Regions from separate parts of the Homo sapiens genome. Here regions 2 and 3 are each linked to region 1. Evidence: promoter capture Hi-C in 16 types of primary human blood cells and fetal thymus (Javierre and others, 2016). All regions are on one chromosome and are shown on one strand. The core of a region is centred on a gene start or on the middle of the fragment in contact, and the rest is flanking DNA. Distances in the headings are between cores, read along the strand shown.

Region 1 (3,080 bases), core at 304-2,803:
TGGTCTCAAACTCCTGGCCTCAAGCCATCCTCCTGTGTAGCTGCTTAGCGGGGATATAGGCACCAGACACCCTGCCCGCCTGCTCACTCTTAAGTCTTCTTCTTGGGTTTCAGCTCACACCGCTTTCCTCCTCAGAGATTTTTCCTGGCTATTCGCACACTGTCTTCATAATCTTTCTCTTTTGTATTGTTGTTTTTGACACTTCTTATCTAATACTTTACCAATGTGTTTATTTTTTAAAAATCATTTCTTCTCATAAGGATTTGTTCAGGGCTGTAGCTCCTGGACATGGGGCAGTGCCCAGAAGAGTGAAGAGCTCAGTAATATGTTGAACGAATGAACCAAATAAGGTGGCTTGAAAAGGGTGTAGACTAGTACAGATTAAAAACAAATCAACATTAGTGATTACCGTTTTATACCTGTTATTATAAGATCTGCATATCAGAAGAAGGACTGTGTGTTAACATTTGCATAACAAATTGGCTCAAAAAAGTAATTGGTCCAAAACAATAGTCCCCTATCAAAGGTGAGGTTAGGCTCCAACAATGCAAAACTGAAGTTACTGGCAGCTTTGAAATCACAGACCCTCTTCACTCTCCCCACCCACAAGGTTTACAAAAAATTCTTAGGCGGTTTTCCCCCTGGCCAAAATGTGACAGCTATTAAAATGGCAGGTTTCAGGTTAGCCAAGTGAGAGGCAGACATGTGTTTCAGGGGACAGGAAGGTTATTTCCACCGTGTACAAGTGGATGCTGCTTTGGACACTGATGGACAGGTAACATAAAATGGGCGAATCTGCAGGGGGATGAACTGGGAGGAAAGTATTTTAGGTGGAGGGAGCGTCTCATAATTTCCAACAGAGCCACCCCAAATAAACCTTGAAGCCAAGTAAGAGAACGGGACCTGCATTAGGAATGCAGCAGCCTCAGGTATGTCCAACCACATGGCCCCCCATAAGGTTTTCCTAACCATTTTGGAGCCGCTACTGAATTTAGGTGTGGAGGAAAGCAAGAGCATGGATTCTATTATCCCCACTCAACTGAGTGGCAAGATATAAGGCTAAGGCTCAAGAGCCTTGAATGTCAGGACAAGGGCCCTAAGCCTTTAAGCTCTCTAAGGCGATCAGTGAATGGCAGTGTAAGTAAAGTAGTTTAGGAGGAAAGACCGATTTGGAGAGTCCAGAGTGAAGGCTGTTGACAGTCCAGGCAAGAAAGAGAGTATAGAGTCCAGAATTGGGAGAGAAGTAATATGAATTAAAAAAAGAAGGGTGGGCCTGAGTTGCCTGGGTTAGAAGTTTCCGGTGGGGCTATGCAATCTGAAGAGCTGCAACCTAAGTTGGGCGGGGGATTCATGGGGCTTGTTCTAATGCTTTTTTGCTTTTTGGCTGATGGGATGCAAACTACTATGTGCCTCTTCAAAATAATAGCCCCTGGTGTCTACTAATCATATCATGAAATAGAAATTGTGAAGGCACTGTATCTTTTAAAAAAAATCCCCTTTTGAAGAACTTCCTTAAAAACAGCTATTTAATGCAACTCTGCCAGTATGTTCTTGATGGTTATGTCTTAACAATTCTAATTTTTAAAAAAAATATTACTATTTTTTTTCATCAGAGCCATTGCACTGGAAAATAATTTTTTATTTTCATGATAGCCTACCGTTGAATTTACCGTTCTGATATTAATGAAACATCTCTATAAAGGGTTGAAGTGTCTTCCCGGTAAGTTCTCAGCTTATGTTTTTCTAAATATCTTCTAATCACTGTTCATTTTTTCCTTTGGCCTAATGAGTGTTTCTCACTGTCTGCGTGTTCAGATGCAAGAAATATTAAGCAATCATAGTAATCAATAATGTTTTCAAGCTTTTTCTTCCTTTTAGATTTGCTACTTGTAATAGCTGCGATAGTCTTGTGGAGCATTTTAGTCAAAGAGAACATGTTCATTTTTAAATATTTAATTCAAAATACAACATTCAGTGCTTCTGCACTTTTGAGTCAAAGCAGTTAATTGAAAATCACTGACATGGCTTTTAAAAAATATGTGCTACTGATAATATTCACTAAAGACCATGAGCCGAAGAGTGATTTCTGGATTTTCTTCTATTTTCTTTTAACTGACATGATGTAATGATTTCAAAGAGCCAAGCAGAATTTTGATATTTAATATGTTATGTTGATATATGATGGATATATATAATATTGGCATTAGATTACATCATCTCATTTTATTATTCAAAGTTAAACACTAAAGAGTAAACACATTGTGTTTGCGGGTAAATACTAAGAAGATAAATACTTGCATAAAAAGAACTGCTGGGTTTACTTAATGGAATGATAAGCAATTTTGGACCCACCACAGTTCTTTTTATTATGTGGGTTGGTTTTTGTTTGTTTGTTCCCTGTGTTGGTCTATAGAACGTAGAGTTAAAAGCATTTAATTGTGGGTCGGTGTGATAATTGTTTCTCTAAAGCAAAATCAGAATTACTTAGAGATAAGAAAGTAAATAACAAAATTATAGACGAGTTTTCTTAGCCTAGGATTCAAGCAAGTCCAAGGATAGTCTTCACAGGCTAAATTTTATTTGCAATATAAGTCCAATTTTCATGGGAGGAAAAGGATGGCTTTTGCCAGATTCTCAGAAGGCAATATAACACCAAAGAAAGGTTTTTTAAAAAAGCCCTATTTTTATAAAGCTATGCTAAGGTAAAAAGGATTTTGATTTTCAGAATTTTAGAATATTTAAAATAATTTTGAAATACTTATATATACTTTTGAGTTATTTCCACTTTCTCTTATCAATCAAGCAGCTCAGATAATTAAATATATAGCTATTTTAATATTTAAAGCATTTTGTAATCATGGAAAAGCAAAAAGAAATGTTTGTAGAAAATTTCGTAGAAAAAAATTTGTACTCATCAAAGAGAATTCAGGAGGTACTCTTGGTTTATGTAAGGTATTTTCAGAAAATATTTTTGAGCAAGATCTTATTCAGAATCAAATTAGAGACTGCATTTAATTTTGCTTTTTAAATATTAAACTTTTTCAGGATTGTCAACTTATTTTATTTTATTTTCTTCAAGC
Region 2 (3,080 bases), core at 155-2,654, 240 kb after region 1:
ATTTGATTCATATAATAAAATAATGCAGTGTGGAGTCTAAGGTCCTTTTTTGGTCGAATCTTCATGTGCACAGAAAGGGGACCCGCCTTGACAACAGTCACCAGCATCAGGTAATTGTGAGACTCTCAACTGTGGTAGGCAATTGGTGAGATAATGTAAAAGCACCTTGTAAATGCTAGTGCTAAACATTAGATAGTATTATCTGCCTCTGTTGCCTCTTTCTTAGAGACCAGGAAATAGTGCACAAAGCAGGAATACTATTCTCTGTTCCTCTTTTTCATATAGTTCCCTCTCGGTCTGATCCTTTTAAGAACTTTGTCATTTGCTCATTTTGGCTTTGGCTTCCCATGCCTACTGATTCTTTTTAGCCCCACTTTATTGCTGAAAAGGAGAAACAGTAGCTCTGAAAAAACTCTCTAATGATAAATGATAGGAGAAGCTTAAAACTATGGATCATTTAGCAGAGGGCAGGCTTCAGGCAGTTGATTCTCAATTATGGAATAATTGTATTTACCACCTATCGAGCACTTACATGTTTCAGGCATTGTACTAAGAGCTTCACAGGCATTATCTTATTTATTCCTTACATTTATCCCGTAAGGTGGGTATTACCTCCATCTAAAGACATTGGGGCATCCAGGCAGAGATGTAAAGTATGTAGACAGATATAAAAATCTACAGCTCAGGAAAAAATGTAGATTGGAGATAAGGATTTAGAAGTCATTAGCATATAGATGGTAGTTTTAAGTATAGATAAAATTGTTCATAGACTATAAGAATTCCAGATGGAATTCTGAAAGCATCATTTAAGATATGAATGAAGAGGCAGTCTAGGAAGGAGCGTGAGAAGAGCTCCAGCAAGGTAGGAAAATCAGGAGAGAACATGGAATAGATAAAAACACAGCAGAGCTTTTCAAGAAAGAGGGTATGATCAGCATCTTAAATATTGTAAAGAAGTTATGCAAGATAATTAATGAAATGTATCCCTTAGATTTGTATCCTTTAATTGGAATTGAAAATTGAAGGTCAATTTACCTTAAACAATTTTAGTAGAATAATGGGGCCAAAAGCCAGACTAGAGTGTGTTAAGCAACAAACGTGAAGAGAGGAGAAAATTACAAATGTTGACTAATTTTCAGTGAGCCTATTCGTGGAGCATAGGAGAGAGAGTGACAGCTTCAGGGGAATGCAGACTAGAGGGACTGATGCTGATTGGTTAGTGGTTTTTTGAGAAATTTAAGCATATTTACTAGGGGAAAAATGTCTATGGAAACTAAAAAAACTACAGTGACTATTAGTACCTCAATAAAGAAGACTATTGGAATTTTCCCTGCTTTTTAAGTGAAATTGACCTGGGAGTATTTAAATTTGCCTTAAATCATATGGTTGTTTTTATTATAATTTTTCCTTATGTACACAAGTAGTGGGTAATTATTGTGAAAAAACTTCAGACTTTACAGGAGTTCATAAATTAGAAAATAAAAGTCTTTATAACATCAGTGATAACTATTAGCAATTTGATATATGGTATATATTTTTTTCCCTCTGCATATACCGTTACCTATGTGTGAGCACATGTTGTTCTGTAACTTTTTTAACTTAACAGTGTAGTCAACTGATAATTCAATAATGGAAGTAAAGGTAAAAATAAACTAAGCCTACAGAGATTTTTACATCTTTGCTATTTAATATGTGATGAACCTCCATATTCAGGAATTTTATTTACAAACACCTTATCTATTCTTTGTCCTTCCTCTTTAGAGTGGATGTAACTGAAATTCAGATAGCTTTAGTGATTGTCTTTGTGTTGTCTGCATTTGGAGGAGCAACAATGTGGGACTATACGGTAAATCTGAATATTTAAATTTATATTTAAGTACTTTTCAAATATTTAGGAAAAAGTATTGCATTGTTAATTTTCTTCAAAAATCCTTGGCATTGTATTTAATTTTTTTTTTTTAATTGGTGTATTTAATATTTGTTCCATTTCTTAACATTTTTTTCTTCATTTTATAATGTGTATTATCCTATATACCTTATGGCATTTCCTCCTATGCTTGAGTATATTGCCACATAGAAGAAGACAACCTCATTTCCCTAATACTAAATAAAACAAAAACAACAACAAAAAACACACATTGGAATAACTTTTTCCAGGGTGAAATAAAATAAATATTTTAAAAATAAATCCAGTAAAATGTTTTACATTTAAAACTTGTCACTCAATATTAGGAAAGTAGTTAATTTGCATTTTTATAATCTACTTTGAGGTGAAGATTCCCATATTAAGGAATGTTTTTATTTTCTGCCTGCTTGGTGACCTCAGTAGTTTCATAAAAGTTGGCTCTTAGGAGGCCACTGTCATAAATTCAAGCTTTTTTGCAAAAGAAGAACATTTCTGAAGAAACAGTTGTCCTGTTACCACAACGTAAGTCCACCATACTGGCTAACTGACTCACACTTTCTGCTCATAGTGTTAAGAATAATAATAATAAGGATATCAATAGTCAACAACTAACAGTCATTCAATACTTATGTTCCTAAACATTCACCATCTGCCCCTCAGTTTTATCTGCCCCTCAGAACAATCCTATAAAATAGATATTATTAGTATTATGCTTTATAAATAAGTCTTAGGGTGATTAAGTAATTTGTCCAAGGACACATGAGAAGTGCTGGAGCTAGGAATTAAACAGACTGATTCCAGACTGTATGTAATCACTAAGCTATATATCTAGTAAAAATAGTAAGTGATACAAAACTAAACATAGTTTTGTGGTAAACATGATCAGCAGTCACACTCCTTGTTATTTACCTAAATGATTTGAAAACTTATGTCCACACAAAAACCTGTACACAAATGTTTACAGCAGCTTTATTCATAATTGCCAAAATTTGAAAGCAACTAAGATGTCCTTCATCTTAGCTGGATAAACTAATGCTAAAAAGAAATGAGCTATCAAGCCATGAAAAGAAGTTATGCGAGGAACTTATGGAGTTCCAAGAAGTTATGGAGGAACCTTAAATGTTTGTTACTAAGAGAAAGAAGCCAATCTGAAAAGTCTGCATATTGTGTGATT
Region 3 (3,080 bases), core at 272-2,771, 180 kb after region 1:
TTCTTAGGGTTTGGGATGTAAAGCCAAAATCAAGATTATTCTTGGCATCTCTTGAATCTTAAAGTATAGCATTATTGATATGTTCTATTTTAGCCTTTTTAAAGCTATGAGATGAAAAAAAAGAATAATAGACTCTGCATATACAATAAGCAGATTCTATTTGTGGAGATAATTCCATATAGTCCAAAATAAAGATTTAATTTGAATCAATAAGTAGGATAATTAAGGCTTCTCATCCTCTCTCTCTCTCTCTCTCTTTCTCTCTCTCTCTCCCTCTCTTTCCTGCACTAAAGAAGTTAATCAGATAAAGGTCAAGTGTCTTTTCAGCTTGGGTCATATATAAACTAGATCTTTGGAGTCTTAGAAATACATTTTCCTTGTTTCCTTAGGATCCACAAGTTAGTGATAGCCAATGCCCTCACTGAAGATGAAGGTGATTATGTATTTGCACCTGATGCCTACAATGTTACTCTGCCTGCCAAAGTTCATGTTATTGGTGAGTAGATAAAATAATTCATTGCATAGTTGTGTTCTTTTTTGTTTGCTTTTGCTTACCATGGAATTATAATATATTCAAAACTAAGTGACATTTAAGGAAAAATACATCAATTGGTATTAATCACCAATCAGAAAGATTGGTGACTTATACCAACACCTTACAATAAAATGGTTTTGCAAGGTGCCAGGCACCAACTATCTTGACTCCTCTTATATTCTTTTTGATTAGATAAAATATTGGTTACTACCATCATACTAGCCAAACATTAGTGCAGATATTTACACAGAAATGACTGTCTGATAACAAAGACTATGCTTAATATTCTAGATCCTCCTAAGATCATCCTGGATGGTCTTGATGCTGACAACACAGTGACAGTGATTGCAGGAAACAAGCTTCGTCTTGAGATCCCCATCAGCGGAGAACCACCTCCTAAAGCCATGTGGAGCCGGGGAGATAAGGTTTGTTTTATGCTTGCACACACTCACATGCACACACACATATGCAGACACACTGCCTACCCCACCCCTTGCCCTCCATTATTCAGATGAAGGTAGAAAACAAATAAATGTACAGCAGTACAGTAAAGATGTAATTCCTTTGAAAAAGAAAGATGACTGATTTTCAGGCAAATCTGATCATCATTAATTTACTTCTCATATTTCTGACTATTATGTAGCAAAGCATGTTTTGATGCACAGTGAAAAAGCCTCATTTTTATTCTAATGAAATTGGGGGGATGAAAAAGAAAATGAATTATTAAATAAATAAATGAACAAAGTCACTTTGGATAGTAATAAGTACAAGAAGATAATAAAAGAGAATGATACAATAGCAAGTAACTGCATAGTCAATGGCAGCCTCTGTGAAGAACAAGGAACCCATTATGTGAAGATCAAACGGAAGACATTTCCATACGGAGGCAATTACAAGTGCAAAGGCCAAGGGGAGAGAATAAGCCTGATGTGTTGGAGGAACAGAAGGAAAGCCAGCATGGCTGGGGCAAAGTGAATGATTGGGAGAAATGCAAGTGAGGGTGAAATGGTAGAGTAGTGCCAGCTCAAGTGTGACTCCGTGGCTTTCTACAAAAATAAAAGCAAAAAAAGAAAAATTACATTTAAAAAGAAGACATGAGGCTGGGCATGGTGGCTCATGCCTGTAATCCCAGCACTTTGGGAGCTGGGGCAGGCAGAACACCTGAAGCCAGGAGTTCCAGACCAGCCTGAGCCTGCATGGAGAAACCCCATCTCTACTAAAAATACAAAAAAATTAGCCAAATATGGTGGCAGCATGCCTCTAATTCCAGCTACTCAGGAGGCTGAGGCACAAGAATTGCTGGAACCCGGGAGGCAGAGGTTGCAGTGAGCCGAGATCACGCCACTGCACTCCAGCTGGGTGACAGAGTGAGACTCTATCTCAAAACAAATTTTTTTAATGTTAAAAATAAAATTAAATAATAAAAAGCAGAATGAGACTTCTACTTTCAACCAGAATTGAATAACAGGAACCAGATTTACCTACTCACTTGAAATAACCCCCAAAATAGACAAAATATGTGAACAATGGGTTTCAAGACATTGGACATCAGATCGTGAAAGACAATGACTATGAAATATGATAAACAAATGAAATAAGCCCTATAATTGCCTCAAGCTTATTGCCATAAAAGAGTATCCAGGCAGTGGCACAAGGAAGAAAAACCTGGACAGAACCCAGTGGACTCCCTAAGTTTAGGACTCCCATTGTACAAGGAGACCAAGGCAGCTAGAGTTCATAGGATACATACTATACATACTGGAGGAGAGAGCTGCACAGAGAGTCCCCCTGGAGCTCTGCAGAGGAACACGCTCAAGTATTCAGCAAAGATCAGTGCACATTTATGAGGAAACTACCCAAGATTCAAGAAAGGAACATATGAAAGGATTAAAGAGAAGTGGACTGGCACTCACACAAGGCCAATAGTAGTGCCTGTTCCCCCTAGCTAGACATGAAAACCTCATCATTCACAGTGCATTGAGTAGAGTACTCAGGAAAGCCTTGCCTTGGTTGCAGGAATAATTAACCCTAGACTGAGCACTGTCATGGACCCACCTAATAAGTCATAAAAACAAGTCTAAAAGATTCAATCAATTTCCAAATAATTTAATTGCATTTCAAAACAAAGCTCAAGATTTATATAGGAATACAAAAATATCAAGCACCCAACATGACAAAATTAGCAATATCCTGCCATCCAGTCAAACATTATGGTAGAGAAATAAGCAGGAAAACACAGCTCAAAATGAGGAGAAAAGTCAGTTACAGCCAATTCAGATCTCACATGTAAATTAGAATAGCAGTCGAGCATATGAAAATAGTTATTTTAAGTGTATTCCATATGTTCAAAAAGTTAGGTGGAGAAATGTTAAGCTCTCCATTTAAATTAAATTTAAGAGAAATTTAATAAAATAAAATAAAAATTAAGAGAAAGTTAAGTGAAAAAAGTGAACTGAAATGGAAAATATAAAAAGATCCAAATCTAATCACCTACAGATGAAAGCAATAAAATGTCTCAGATAAAAAATATGTAGATGGAATTAAT

The links. Contacts are between HindIII fragments. The CHiCAGO score rates a contact against its expected background, and 5 or more counts as called.
Region 2: a contact is called between a fragment that was not itself captured here and the fragment with the promoter of SPIC in region 1, in 1 of 17 cell types (M1 macrophages). The highest score is 6.1, in M1 macrophages.
Region 3: a fragment that was not itself captured here is called in contact with the fragment with the promoter of SPIC in region 1 in 1 of 17 cell types (M1 macrophages); the score reaches 5.4 in M1 macrophages.

What each region holds. Positions count from the first base shown.
Region 1 is chr12:101,473,783-101,476,862 of GRCh38, forward strand. SPIC (Spi-C transcription factor) reads left to right here and starts at 1,554. Exons shown (of 6, transcript NM_152323.3): 1 at 1,554-1,720; 2 at 3,046-3,080. RefSeq lists an enhancer at 199-894. The HindIII fragment of the contact is 10,024 bases long and covers 1-1,859 here.
Region 2 is chr12:101,714,967-101,718,046 of GRCh38, forward strand. CHPT1 (choline phosphotransferase 1) reads left to right here. Exons shown (of 9, transcript NM_020244.3): 4 at 1,762-1,846. Among named protein-coding and RNA genes, the nearest start is that of CHPT1, 19 kb to the left of the region's middle. The HindIII fragment of the contact is 1,935 bases long and covers 438-2,372 here.
Region 3 is chr12:101,652,289-101,655,368 of GRCh38, forward strand. MYBPC1 (myosin binding protein C1) reads left to right here. Exons shown (of 32, transcript NM_002465.4): 17 at 390-496; 18 at 827-960. Among named protein-coding and RNA genes, the nearest start is that of CHPT1, 44 kb to the right of the region's middle. The HindIII fragment of the contact is 1,258 bases long and covers 893-2,150 here.